Linked DNA regions of Homo sapiens: region 2 is linked to region 1. The links are contacts of gene promoters, found by promoter capture Hi-C in blood cells and fetal thymus (Javierre and others, 2016). All regions are on one chromosome and are shown on one strand. Each heading gives the region's core, a stretch centred on a gene start or on the middle of the fragment in contact. The rest is flanking DNA. Distances are from core to core; before and after follow the strand shown. Region 1 holds the start of VIRMA (vir like m6A methyltransferase associated). Region 2 holds the start of POP1 (POP1 ribonuclease P/MRP subunit).

Evidence for each region. Contacts are between HindIII fragments. The CHiCAGO score rates a contact against its expected background, and 5 or more counts as called.
Region 2: the fragment with the promoter of POP1 here is called in contact with the fragment with the promoter of VIRMA in region 1 in 1 of 17 cell types (monocytes); the score reaches 9.4 in monocytes.

What each region holds. Positions count from the first base shown.
Region 1 is chr8:94,550,746-94,557,878 of GRCh38, reverse strand. VIRMA (vir like m6A methyltransferase associated) reads left to right here and starts at 4,410. Exons shown (of 24, transcript NM_015496.5): 1 at 4,410-4,494. The coding sequence starts at 4,432. It overlaps VIRMA-DT (VIRMA divergent transcript), which reads right to left and starts at 4,166. Exons shown (of 2, transcript NR_183271.1): 1 at 3,972-4,166. RefSeq lists an enhancer at 4,097-4,716. The HindIII fragment of the contact is 4,366 bases long and covers 979-5,344 here.
Region 2 is chr8:98,113,509-98,120,641 of GRCh38, reverse strand. POP1 (POP1 ribonuclease P/MRP subunit) reads right to left here and starts at 3,349. Exons shown (of 16, transcript NM_001145860.2): 1 at 3,252-3,349. RIDA (reactive intermediate imine deaminase A) reads left to right here and starts at 3,471. Exons shown (of 6, transcript NM_005836.3): 1 at 3,471-3,610. The coding sequence starts at 3,546. RefSeq lists enhancers at 3,077-3,246, 3,317-3,366. The HindIII fragment of the contact is 6,678 bases long and covers 1,725-7,133 here.

The DNA.
Region 1 (7,133 bases), core at 3,161-5,660:
TAATAAGATTAGGGTAGGGCAGCCAGCTTCCTCGCACACTATGTAAACATCACACCCGGTCCAACCAATCTGTGGGCCCTATGTAAATCAGACACTGCCTCCTCAAGCCTGTCTATAAAATCTGGTGCACTCCCCCGTGGGCTAGAATTCCCATTAGGGAGCTGCCCCCATGTCTGTCTGTCTGTCTGTCTCTCTCCCTCTCTCTCCCTCCCCCCCTTCAAGAGAGGGAGCTGTTCTCCTTTCTCTTTCTTGTGCTATTAAACCTCACTTCATGTGTGTGTCCACATCCTCGATTCCCTTGGTGTGAGACAACAAGCCTTGGGTATTACCCCAGACAATGATGCTGCTTCAGAATCAATATTGTGAAAATGACAATACTGACAAAAGCAATCTATAAATTCAATGCAATTTGCATTCAAATACCATCATCATTCTTCAAAGAACTTGAAAAAAAAATCCTAAAATTCATATGAAACAAAAAAAGACCCCAGATAGCCAAAGCAAGACTAAGCAAAAAGAACAAATCTGGAGGCAACACACCCTCTGAATTCAAACTATACCACAAGGCTATAGTTACCAAAACAGCATGGTACTGGTATAAAAGTAGGCATGTAGATCAGTGCAACATAATAGAGAACCCAGAAATAAAGCCAAATATTTACAGCCAACTGATCTTTGACAAAGCATACAAAAACATAAAGTGGGGAAAGGACACCCTATTCAACAAATGGTGCTGGGATGATTCGCAAGCCACATGTAGAAGAAGGAAACTGGATCCCCATCTGTGCCTGATACAAAAATCAACTCACAATGGATCAAAGACTTAAATCTGAGACCTGAAACTAAAAATTCTAGACGATAACATAGGAAAAATTCTTGTACACACTGGCTTAGGCAAAGAGTTCATGACCAATAATCCAAAAGCAAATACAACAAAAACAAAGGTAAATAGATGGGACCTAATTAAATTAAAAAGCTTCTGCACAGCAAAAGAAATAATCAGCAGAGTAAACAGACAATCCATTGAGTGGGAGAAAAATCTTCACAAACTACGTATCCAACAAAGGGCTAATATCCAGAATCTACAAATAACTCAAACAAATCAGCAAGAAAAAAATAAATTATCCCATCAAAAAGTGGGCAAAGGACATGAATAGACAATTCTTAAAAGAAAATATACAAATTCACCGGACACAGTGGCTCACGCCTATAATCCCAGCACTTTGGGAGGCCGAGGCGAGCATTGTCTGAGGCCAGGAGTTCAAGACTAGCCTGGCTAACATGGTGAAACCCCATCTCTACTAAAAATACAAAAATTAGCTGGGGGTGGTGGTGCACGCCTGCAGTCCCAGCTACTCAGGAGGCTGAGGCAGGAAAATTGCTTCAACCAGGGAGGCAGAGGGTGCAGTCAGCCAAGATCGAGTCATTGCACTCCAGCCTGCGCAACAGAGCAAGACTCCGTCTCAAAAACCAAAACAAAACAACAACAACAAATATATATATATATATATATAAATTGCCAATAAAGAAATGAAAAAATGCTCAACATCATTAATTATCAGGGAAATGCCAATCAAAACCACAATGAGATACCACCTTACTCCTGCAAGAATGGCCATAATTAAAAAATAAAAAAAAACAGATGTTGGCATGGATGTGGTGAAAGGGGAACACTTTTACACTGCTGGTGGGAATGTAAACCAGTACAACCACTATGGAAAACAGTATGTAGATTCCTTAAAGAACTAATAGTAGAACTACCATTTGATCCAATAATCCCACTACTGGGTATCTACTCAAAGGAAAAGAAGTCATTATATGAAAAAGACACTTGCACACACGTTTATAGCAGCACAGCTCACAGTTGCCAAAATACAGAACCAGCCTAAATGCCCATCGACCAACGAGTGGATAAAGAAAATGTGGTGTATATACATATATATACATATGGGAATACTACATATATATATATATATATATATATATATATATATATATATATATATATGGGAATATATATGGGAATACTACTAACTCAACCACAAAAAGGAACAAAATAATGGCATTTGCAGCAACCTGGATGGAGCTGGAGACCATCATTCTAAGTGAAGCAACTCAGGAATGGAAAACAAAACATGGCATGTTCTCACTATTAAGCAGGAGCTAAGCTATGAGGATGCAAACTCCTAAGAATTATATAATGGACTTTGGGGACTGGCGGCGGGGAAGGGTGGGCGAGGGAGTGAGGGATAAAAGACTACATACACATTGGATACAGTATACACTGCTCAGGTGATGGGTGCACCAAAACCTCAGAGATCACCACTAAAGAACTTTTCCATGCAACCAAACATCACCTGTTCCCTCAAAACTGTTGAAATAAAAATAAAAATGTAAAAAAAAAAAGGATATCAATGCTAAGAAAATCAGACTGTAAAAATGACAACTATAAAAGCACTATATAGTACATTGGTTAAGGGAGAGCTTAGGGGAAAATTTATATAAATACATATAGTAATAAATAAGAAATATGAATAAAAATAAACATCAGTGGTAGAAATTAGAGAACAGCATATAAGCCTAAACACAGAAGAAGGGGGGGGGCACGGTGGCTCACGCCTATAATCACAGCACTTTGGGAGGCTGAGGCAGGAGGATTGCTTGAAGCCAAGAGTTTGAGACCAGGCTGGGCAACGAAGCAAGACCCTGTTTCTAAAAAAAAAAAGAGGCAAGAATCAGAAAACAGAAAAATATTAAAAGCAATAAATATCAATGCAAGAACAAATAATAAAAGATAAACTATAGCTAGCTAATAGAGGAAACTGGATGGCTGAGGAAGGATGTGGAGAGGAGATTTACTTTAGAAATTCATTTATTATTAAATATTTCAGACATACCAGAAGGTACAAACAATAATATAAGGCATGCTTGTGAAATTAACATTAACCTAAATAACAAAACATTACCAAGGCATGTGAAGCCTTTCTGTTCTTCTCCATTACATCTCCTTCCAGTTTACCACTATCTTGAAATTTTAGTTACTCCAATACATGACTTTATAATTTCATGACATATGTACACTCCTAAAATTTTATATTCTTTTGCACGTTTTTAAATATATAGATGTTATTTTACACTATATATTTTTTATTTCCTTTTCTAAGAGATGGGTGTCCCCACTGGCCTCCAACTCCTGGGCTTAAGAGATTCTCCTGTCTCAGCTTCCCGAGAAGTTGGGACCACAGGAACACGCCACCGCACCCGGCTTGCGATGAGAGGAGTTAAACTTGTTTTGTTTTGGTTTGTGTCTTTTTTTTTTCTTTTTGTGAATAACGGGGTCTCGCTATATTGCCCAGGCAGTTCTCCAACTCCTGGGCTCAAGCGATCCTCCCGCTTCATCCTCCCTAAGTGCTGGATTACAGGCGTGAGCCAAAGCGCCCACCAACCCTGTTTTTTGGGTTTTTCATGCTAGTAAACATAGCACTGGTTCATTCTTCGTACCTGCTATATACTATTATATAAATACGCCACTATTTACTTATTACTTCTGTCAATGGCACTTATGTTTCCTGCTCTTTTGCAACTTATAAAGTTTGCTATGAATATTCTTGTATTTGTAGATACGTGGGCGAGAATTTTCCTAGAAGAGTGGTAGGCACGTGTAATTTTACAAGCTATTTCCTAGTTGCTCTGCTAAGGGTTTGTGCCATTTAGACTACCAAACCCGCTGAGTTTATCTCGTTGCTCCAAAGCTCATCAACACCCGACAGAGAGGCTTACTTTTCATTCTGCCTCCTGTTTTATTGTTCATGGTACTTCACGTTACACAATTCCTCGAATTTTATTTCAATTACTCCTCACAATCACCCTGTAGGTTAGGTACGATTTTTCACATTTTACAGATAAGAAAACAAAGAATCTCTTCGTTGGTTGAAACAACAGTTTTTCTTCTATTTAAATCAATGTCTTACTTTTCAACCTCGCTCACTGTTATCTTTTTGCTCCCAGCGCTGGAAAAAGTGGGACATCCCCTTCGGTGGGTGTACGGGGTTGGTATCCAAAGTTGGCAGCTTTCCCTCCCCCTCCTCCATCCACCGTCTCCAAAACCCCGTCTCCGCACTTCGCCACCCGGAGACCGCTGTAGCTCTGTAACGCGGAGGAACGACAGGGTTTGAACCACTGGAGACCCCGTAGTCCCCATCTCACTTCCCTCTGCCCCCCCTCTGCGTTCTAGGGGGCGCCCTCCGCCGCGCTGGAAAAGGCGGGGCCGGCAACTCCGGGCAACAAGATGCGTTGGGATAGGCCGAGGTTTGCGGCGCTAGTGCTCTGGTCACCGGAAGTCCCTCTGTTTCTCCCTCTCCTGAGTCGCTGTCGCGGAGGCTGGAGCGCTGCCCCGGAAGTCCTCCCCCCTGTTCCCCGCCCGCGGCAAACATGGCGGTGGACTCGGCGATGGAGCTGTTATTTTTAGATACTTTTAAACACCCGAGCGCTGAGGTAAGGCTTGGCGACTTGATTCTGACGCTGCTTCTTGACTTGGGATCTTTACAAAAAAACCGTTAGGCGTTCTCCACTTTTCCTTCTGCAGATTGCTTCTTTAATTTCTCGCTTACACACAGACACCCTCCCCCGAGCTGTGTGAGCATCGCGTCTGAGGGAGGGCTGCAGCAGCCCCTTCATTTCCTTGCTTTAACTTGGGCCCTCCGTGTCTTTGGTCGAGTTGGCTTTTCTGCTTGCATGGCTTTATTTTTTATTTTTCCTGTCAGGTTTGGGCCTTGAGAAGGATCAGGGTTCTCAGGTTTACCTCAGATGGCGTTTGGGAGGGGTCTTGGTTTGCCAGTAGTGTTTGACAGTAGTGCCGGAGTCTGAGCAGTTTACGTTGGCTTCGTGGTTTCCGAATCACGATGTTTCTAAATCCTTTCTCTTTGGCCTCTTTTCTGTCGGGAATTATGTTCCCCAGTTGTGACACTTACTTGGTTTAGGATTACGGTGCTCTCCGATTTGGCCTGAAACTTTAATACTTGTCTCTCGGAGAGATTTCACACATTAGGAATGAGATGCATTCACGGAGAATACTTGCGAAGAGGGGAGAGTTGAGAGAATTATAGTTAAACTCATCAGCAGACATCTCCTTTGAGGTTGGAGGTGGAATGTTGTGGAGTAATATTTCTGTACAAAACTACTTGAGCGCCCCTTAATGTACAATTGGCCCTGCAATATGTAGATTAAACATAGCTGGTTAACTAAAGATTCCTGAAAGCAGACCAAAAATGAACTTGAATGAAGTCTACGGAGAAATTGTTAAAAAAAAAAACGAACTTCACATTTTTCTGTCTTAATGTAAGCTTAATTTAGAGAACTGTTCTTTCTTTGGAGATTATTTTTTTCCTTTTATTTTTATCAAGTGTGCTCTTGTATCAAGCTTTTTGAGGACAGATATAATTTCTCTTTTTCTCAGCTGTATCTCCAGTGCCTAGGACAGTATTAGCAAAATGTAGGTGCTCAATAAATATTTGAATGGAAAATGTTTAAAATGTTCTTTCTTTTATGAGATAGTAATGATAGTGGGTAGTGATTGTATCATAATGCTTTACTTGGCAAAATAAAAAGTTGACAGCTGTGATCTAATTTAACGAATGGTTTATAGGTTTGTAAAAGTCAAAAGTTGGAGAACTTTGAGTTAGCATTTCTTACTGACAGTTAATTTATGGTCTGACATTTAATGTGGGTCAGTTAGCACTGTTTGTTCAATGACTATATCTAACATTCTAGCCGAGATTTAGAAAACCCTCAATGGAGGCAGTAGTTGGATCAGAACAAACTTATGGTGTATAGAAATAGAGAACAGTTAAAACTGAAAGAGCCTGGCGCAGTGGCTCATGCCTGTAATCTCAACGTTTTGGGAGGCGGAAGCAGAAGGATTGCTTGAGTCCAGGAGTTTGAGACCATCCTAGGCAACACAGTGCAACCCCTGTCTCTACAAAAGAAAATTAACTAGTTGTGGTGGTTTGATCTTGTTGCCCCAGCTACTCGGGAGGCTGAAGTGGAAGGATCATTTGATCCTGGGAGTTCAAGGCTGCAGTGAGCTAAGATCACACCACTGTGCTCCAGCCTGAGCAACAGAGTGAGACCCTGTCTCGAAAGGAAGAAAGAGAAAAAGGAAAAAGAGAAAGAGGCATGTGATGAATTAGTTTAGTACTATTCTAGTTTAGGAAAATTGGCCTTCATTAGTTTATCATGTATTTCTATTCTTTTATTCATTCTTAGGTAAACATTGAATACCTTGAGAGCATAGGGCAGATGGTAAATGCTTTCTTCTGGGGTGATTGGGGAAGGCTTAGCAGAGATCACATTTAAATCAAGTCTTGAAGGAGGAAGTAGGGGTTTGTGGGTGATACGAAATATTGAAATGTTTGTTTTCAAGAAGTTATAACTCAGTATTGGAGATTAGATTCACAAAATTGTGATTTGAGTTAGAATGTGATGATCACATAAAGAAGCACAGTGTGAATTCGTTGGGGTTTATCATCTTAGTTTACAAAATGCCCATCAGTATCTGACGTATTAGAACTAGCTCCCTTTGTGGGTATAAATAAAAGATACAAGATTTCAGAAGAGGCAGAGATAACTTTTCATTTGAGTGTATCAGGAAAGACTTCATCAAGGTGTTTGGCTTATGAACTTGGTCTTTGGTGAAAGGGGCAATATTTCACAGTTGTAGTTAGGAAAGGAGGGCATTCTACTGGGGTAGTCAGTCGTCTGTTAGGGTATGCTTGAAGTAGCAGTGTGAAGTGGCACCCAAGGCAATTCAAAGACAGATCATGGAGCTCCTTGAATGCTCGACAAAGAATTACAGACTTTAGGCCAGGCGCAGTGGCTCACGCCTGTAATCCCGGCACTTTGGTGAGGCTGAGGTGGGTGGATTGCCTGACGTCAGGAGTTCGACACCAGCCTGGGTAACACAGTGAAACCCCGTCTCTACTAAAATACAAAAAATTAGCTGGGCGTGGCGGTGTGCGTCTATAGTCCCAGCTACTCGGAAGGCTGAGGCAGGAGAATTGCTAGCACCCGGGAGGAGGAGGTTGCTGTGAGCCAAGATCACGCCACTGCACTCCAGCCTGTGCGACAGAGCAAGA
Region 2 (7,133 bases), core at 2,100-4,599, 3.6 Mb before region 1:
AAATGAGCCACGTGTGATGGCATGCGCTTGTAATCCCAGCTGCTCGGGAGGCTGAGGCACGAGAATCCTTTGAACCCAGGAGGCGGAGATTGTGGTGAGCCGAGATCACGCCACTGCACTCCAGCCTGGGCGATAGAGTGAGACTCTGTCTCAAAATAAAAAAATGAACAAACATATACATACTGTACATGGTTTTGGCTTTGCAAAATGCATATACACAACTCACTTAGCATGGGGCTTTATGCTAACTAAATGCTCAGTTTATGGTAGCTATTATTCTTAAATAATAAATGAAATAGCAGGGATTGATGCCATTTCACTGTCTCACTCCACTAATTTCAACTAAATGAAAGACAGCTATATCTACATGCAAAAACATTTTTCAAATTAAACAGTATGAAGGAAGTAAATGGAGTTCTGCAGAACTGGCTGGCTAGTGAAGCACATGATTCAGATCGGTCTGCATTAAAAGCCATTCCAAATATTTTACAAAACAACTTAGTTAACCTACTGTTACCTGCTTGAATCAGAACTCACCAGCAAGGCTAGACAAGAACACCATAGAAACTCTAGCTCCCCTCAGTATTAGAATGGTCCAAGAAAAGGTTGGTGCTGGAGGATTAGGATAACCTTGGGAACATCCCTGAGCTTTGGGTCCAGACTAAAATATGAGGAAATCAAACTGGCAGTGGTCCTCTAACAGCAGAAGGGAATGAATATAGGATGCATCTTTATGAAGTCTGAGGATTTAATTTAAAAGTTTCCAGAGGCCTGGTGTGGTGGTTCACATCTATAATCCCAGCACTTTGGGAGGCCAAGGCGGGAGGATTGCTTGAGCTCAGGAGAAACCAACCTGAGCAACATAGTGAGAACTCATCCCTACAAAGAAATCAAAAAATAAGCTAGGCATAGTTATGAGCTTGTGGTCCCACCTACTCGGGAGGCTGAAGTGGGAAGATCGCTTGAGACAGGGAGGTCAAGGCTGCAGTGAGTGAGCCTTGATCACATTACTGCACTCCAGCCTGGGTGACAGAGCAAGACCCTGTCTCAAAAAAAAAAGTTTCCAGAAGGAATCTTAACTCTTACCTTCACCTTCAAGTCAGTTTTGTCAAACTTTAATAAGCACTAAATATGTGCTGCCTTTATAAAAATATTTTCGCCAAATCTTCAAATAAAATGGATACGTTATGTTTTCTGATACAGCTTAGTATCCTCTGGCCAGACACAACCTTTGGTGTTAGTTAGTTCCCAGTTTGAGAACCTGGGAACTAACTAGATGATGTCTATTTTCTTCCAGATCTAAAAAGTTGGTGATTCAGACTTGATATAAAATCTGTCTTAAGAATAAAGGTACCTTGTTTCACAAGAAATATTTTACACAAGTTGAATCATTTGTAATGCTCCAAAATAGCTTCTTATTTAAAAACTTAAATGGTGAATTATTTTGTAAATAAAAATATGTCTTAATTATCTAGTTTAATCAGATTTAATAAACTTTTGGGCACCTACTATGTGCCCAATAGTTTCAGGCTGTGTATAATTCCAAAGTAGAATAAGAATTTTGTCATCTTAGGCAGCATTGAGAACTTGATGTGGCAGGCACTATTCTACATGACTTATTCATTTAATTCTCACAACTCTGTGGTCACTAGTATTATTCTCATCTTATAAATGAAGAAATCGAAGCACAGAGATTTTATATACCAGTCCAAGGCTACTAAGCTTGTGATTGTGCTGAGATTCAAACCAGGCAGTCTGACTCTATCCACTATTCTTTTTTTTTTTTCCACCCCTTCCCTCTCCAATCCACTATTCTTGAAACACATAACAATTAGAAAATAGGATCTCATATAATAAAATACTAAATTATGCGGTACAGCACAATAGGAAACAGGACAAGGGAAAGAAAAAAAATGAGGCCGGGCATAATGGTTACACCTGTAATCCCTGCACTTTGGGAGGCTGAGGTGGGAGAATTGCTTGAGCCCAAGAGTTGGAGACCAGCCTGGCCAATATGAAGAAGCCCCGTCTCCACAGAAAATACAAAAATTAGCCGGGCGTGCTGGTGTGCACTTGTAATCCCAACTACTTGAGATGCTCAGGCTGGAGGATTGCTTCAGCCCAGGAGGTCAAGGTTTCAGTGAGCCAAGATCATGCCACTGTACTCCAGCCAGGGTGACAGAGTGAGATCCTGTCTTGAAAGAAAGAAAACAAAGAAAAAGAAAAGGAAAGGAAGGAAAGAAGAAAAAGAAAAAAATGTGAATTGGTAGGAAAAGTCAAAGAGAAAATAGAATTTCAGTTAGCTGGAATTTGCACAGATAAGGAAGAAAGAGTATTCAGGAATCCACAGTGTGAATACAGGAGGACTCTAGTGGGAAAAGGGAGTAGATGACAATGAAACTTGAATAGGCAAGGGGAGGCCAGACTGAAAGGTCTTTTATTCCAGGCCCCAAACCAATGAAAAAGATCAGAAGGTTCCTGAGCCGGAAGTAGGAAGGCCAAAACCTTAGCAGTATGTAGGACAAAATGAGAGGGAATAAAGCAGATTTTCTTGTATTATCTTTAGGAAGCAGGGAAGGCAGAGATTTTATTATTATTTTTTTTAACTGTTGCATTCCTCCTAGCATCTAGCAGAGTGCCTTACACAAAGTAGGGACTCATATATCTATGAGTGCCCGCATAAATGAAGAAACGAAGCGTACTTACAATGCAAATATTAACAGGATAAGAAATATTTAGCCAAGTACCACCCCTTCTGACACAGCAGAATACTTACAAGGGATCTGGGCCATTCCAGATCACCATCTTTCTTTCTGAAATGATATCCCAATCACTAGGGCTCTGTTCAGACAGTGACCTTGTAAAGCCCGAGGAGCACCCTAGAGAAGGGAACACAGGAGGAGCAGGAAAGGGAACACGGGAGGACCAACGCCCAGATCTCAGCGTGGTCGCCAGAATGACCCATATTAGTCATTTGGGGTTGCAGAAGAGGGGATGCAAGCCCATTCCCAGGACGGCCTCCACCCGGCGGGGCAATGAAGGGAAATGACTGACGTAGGGGGCTCCAGCGCAGGGGCCGAAGGAGATGCGACACCAGGGAGAGGGGCCCCGGGCACAGGCAGCAAGGAAAGAGGTCAGCGGAGTCTGAGAGAGAAACGATGAAGAGGGGAGACGGGCGCCGGGAGGGGGGCCGCCGCATACAGTTCCCCCGACACTCGCATCCTGGAAGGCACCAGCCCCTCACGACCAACCTGCCAGACGCTGTGAGGAATCCCCGGGTCAGAATGACAAGCCTCCGCGACAGTACCCACCGAGCCAAAGCTCCTGGAGAGCGCGCTGGAGAGCGCATGCGCCAGACCGGGCGCTTCCTCCACGTGGCCTGGAGCGTCGCCGAAACTACAGTTCCCAGAATGCCGCACGAGCCCGCCCCCAGCGGGAGCTGTGGGGCAGAGGCGCTGCTGTGGTTGGTCAGTCCAGTAAGAAGCCAGCAGGGCTGGTGCTGGGGCTTCTTCTCCTGAAGGGGCTGCAAGAGGGAAGGCTTAGCCATGTCGTCCTTGATCAGAAGGGTGATCAGCACCGCGAAAGCCCCAGGGGCCATTGGACCCTACAGGTAACGTGGCTGGTGGAAGCTGTGTCGGACCCAGGGCGTGCGGGTTCGGGGATTCGGGGTTGGGGCCACTCCGGGCCGGAGCCCCAGCTAACACGCAAGGAAATTGAGCCTGGAAAGTAAGCAACGCGCCCGAAGACCCACAGAGAGTTGGGAGCCACGATGGGACCAGGAACCTGCACTCCATGGGACTTTGCTCGTTCTGGGGCTGCCTCGCTGCGGAGCACAGCCTGCCAGAAAGCTCTCCCCAGTTAGAAGCCTTCAGACCCTGTGTTTTGTTTTGGGGGAGGGGGTCGTTTTTGTTTTCTTGGTAACAGCTTTATTGAGATATAATTCACGTACCGTAAGATTCACCCCCTTTAACATGTACAATTCAGTGGTTTTGACCATACTCACAGAGTTGTGCAGCCATCACCACTTTCTTCAGAACATTTTCATCACCCCAAAAATAAATCCCATCCCCATTAGCATTCACTCCCCATTCTCCTCTCCCCCGGCCCCTGACAATCTACTTGCATCTTCATGGATTTGCTTGTTGTGGACATTTCCTATAAATTGAATCATAAAACATGCAGTCCTTTATGACCAACTTCTTTCATTAGCTTCATACTTGGTCTGCCTCTCTCCCAACTGAAAAGAGCCCCATCAACAGCTCCCTCCTTTAAACCTACTGCTGTGAGAAAAGGCACTGAGATGTGGCAGAACAGGAATTATTATAGAAAACTTGGAAATAAATAAAATGCAGTAGAAGTGAGAGGGCAAGTGGGGTAGGGAGTAAAGGAGAAAAAAGACAAATTGATTTTAACTTGGGGTGGAAGAGGAAAAAGAAGATTTAGGAAGGTTCCTTGTGAGAGGTAGTCCTTTGGTTTTGAAGGTTGGTTTTGTCATTTATAGTAGTGTTGTAAAGTTTGATTTTTAAATTAATTTATTAAGGATTTCAACAGGAAGTCATTGAGTGAAGGGCATGGAGGTAGAAGTCAGGTAGAGGGAATGGCTTGAGTGAGGGCATGGAGGTAGAAGAATGCATGGTATAAAGATTTTGGGGAGAAAGTTTTCATAATTCAAGTGCTACTTCTGTCTTTTTTGTTTGTTTGTTTGCCAAATCTGTATATCACTTATAATTTACTTAACCTATTTCTTTGAGATGGCTCACTTCATTTTATTTAACAAGTTAATTGAAAAAGGAAACTTTACAACAGTACACTAAATAGAAAACAATTCAATAGAAAGTAATAGTAAAAAATAAACTCAATTAAAAAAAGGTATTATTAAATTTTAGCTAGATATTGCAGTTGGCTCAAAACCTGAGGCCTGCTCTCTCTTTGTTAAGAGTGATGTTTCTTTAGCCGGGTACTGTGGTTCACGCCTGTAATCCCAGCACTGTGGGAGGCCGAGGTAAGAGGATTGCTTGAGGTCAGGAGTTCAAGACCAGCCTGGGCAACATAGTGAGACCCCCATCTCTATTTAAAAAAAAAAAAAAGTTTAATTAAAAACTTTCAAGTGATGTTTTAATTTGTTTTCTAAAGATGATTTTTTTTCTCCTTAATGTAATCAAACGGGGTAGAGTCATCATTGCTAACATTTACTGATGCTTACTCAGCAGCATTGGGCACTATCCCTTTTTTTTTTTTTTTTTTTTTTTTTTTGGAGGCAGAGTCTCACTCTGTTGCCCAGGCTAGAGTGCAGTGGTGCAATCTCAGCTCACTGCAACCTCCACCCCACAGATTCAAGTGATTCTCATGTCTCAGCCTCCCAAGTAGCTGGGATTACAGGCAGGTGCCACCACACCCGGCTAATTTTTGTATTTTTAGTAGAGACAGGGTTTCACTGTGTTGGTCAGGCTGGTATTGAACTCCTGACCTAAAGCGATCCACCTACCTCGGCTTCCCAAAGTACTCGGATTACAGGTGTCAGCCACCATGCCTGGCCAGCACCAGGCACTGTTCTAAGTTATTTATGTGCATGGTTATATTATAGTCCCTATTTTTCAGATGAAGAAACTGATGTGTGCAAAATTAAATAATTTGCCAAAAGTTACACCACTAAAAAGTGATGTAACAAAATTTGAATTTAGGAAATGGGTACTAGAGCCTAGTCTTAATCATTTACTTTGTTGTCCCTGGTGTAGATTGAAAAAAAAAATTGGAAAAGGAATCATTTTCTTACTATGTAAGACTGTGTATAAGTCTTACTGTGTATGACTGACTCCTTTGAGAAATACTGATTAAGAGTTGGACTTTGGATTTGAATTTTTGTTTTGCCTCTTTTTAATTATATGATCTTGCAGAGTGACTTAACCTCTCTTAGTTTGCTTCTTTGTCTTCTCAATGGGCATAAATAATACCATTTGATAAGATTATTGTGGGAATTAAATAAAAGTGACCAACAAAAATTAGATTTTGGCCAGGCACAGTGGTTCACACCTGTAATCCCAGCACTTTGGGAGGCCGAGGCAGGTGGATCACAAGCTCAGGAGTTCAAGACCAGCCTGGCCAAGATGGTGAAACCCCGTCTCTACTAAAAATACCAAAAAAAAAAAAAAATTAGCTGGGTATAGTGGCGTATGCCTGTAATCTCAGCTACTCGGGAGGCTGAGGCAGTGAATTGCTTGAACCTGGAAGGCAGAGGTCGCGGTGAGCCAAGATCGCACCACTGCACTCCAGCCTGGGCTACAGAGCGAGACTCTGTCTCAAAAAAAAAAAAAAAAGATTTTAGCAGGGTACAGGTTGTGGTGGTTTCCAATACTAAATGGAAGAATATAAACTTTATTTTGTATATAATAAGGAACAATTAAATGTGGTTTTTTTCTTGTGGTTGTTGTGGTTGTGTGTTTGTATGTGTGTATATTGAGACAGTGTTTCGCTGTGTCACCCAGGCTGGAGCCGGGATCACAGCTTATTGTCGCCTCAACCTCCCGGGCTCAAGCCATCCTCCCACCTCAGCTTCCCAAGTAGCTGGGGCTACAGGCTCAGGCCACCATGCCCAGATAATTTTTGTATTTTTTATAGAGCTGGGGTTTTACCATGTTGCCCAGGCTAAATGTTTTTAAGCAGGGTGGAACATGATCAGATCTTTTAAAAAGAATTCTGATAGTAATTCTGATAGAAATTTGGAGGTAAAGAAAGTGAGAATAGTTAGGGGATATTATAAGTAAAAATTTGTGATTTTTTTTCTCCTTCTGCCCTAATGTCTTTCTCTCAATCACACAGTGGTAGCATTTAGAAAAACATCTTTACCTCCAAACAAGAGGGACACAACCAAATCAAAGTGATTATTAGAGACACTTTGTCCTGGAGCCTGCTAAAGAGCATACCCCTTCCTTGACCTATTTAGAGATACTCTGTGGACTTTGTTCAGGAAAGAAAGCATAACAGTAATGTTCCTGGTTGACTTGAAGGTAGGTGGGAGTCAACTGTCTTTATAAAGCTGAAAGCTAAAAAGAGGGGAATCATCATATGAATGTGCCAGTATGACAAGAAAAAAAGCCACCAGCCAGCTTCATGGTGTGGAGACTTCCAGGACATTG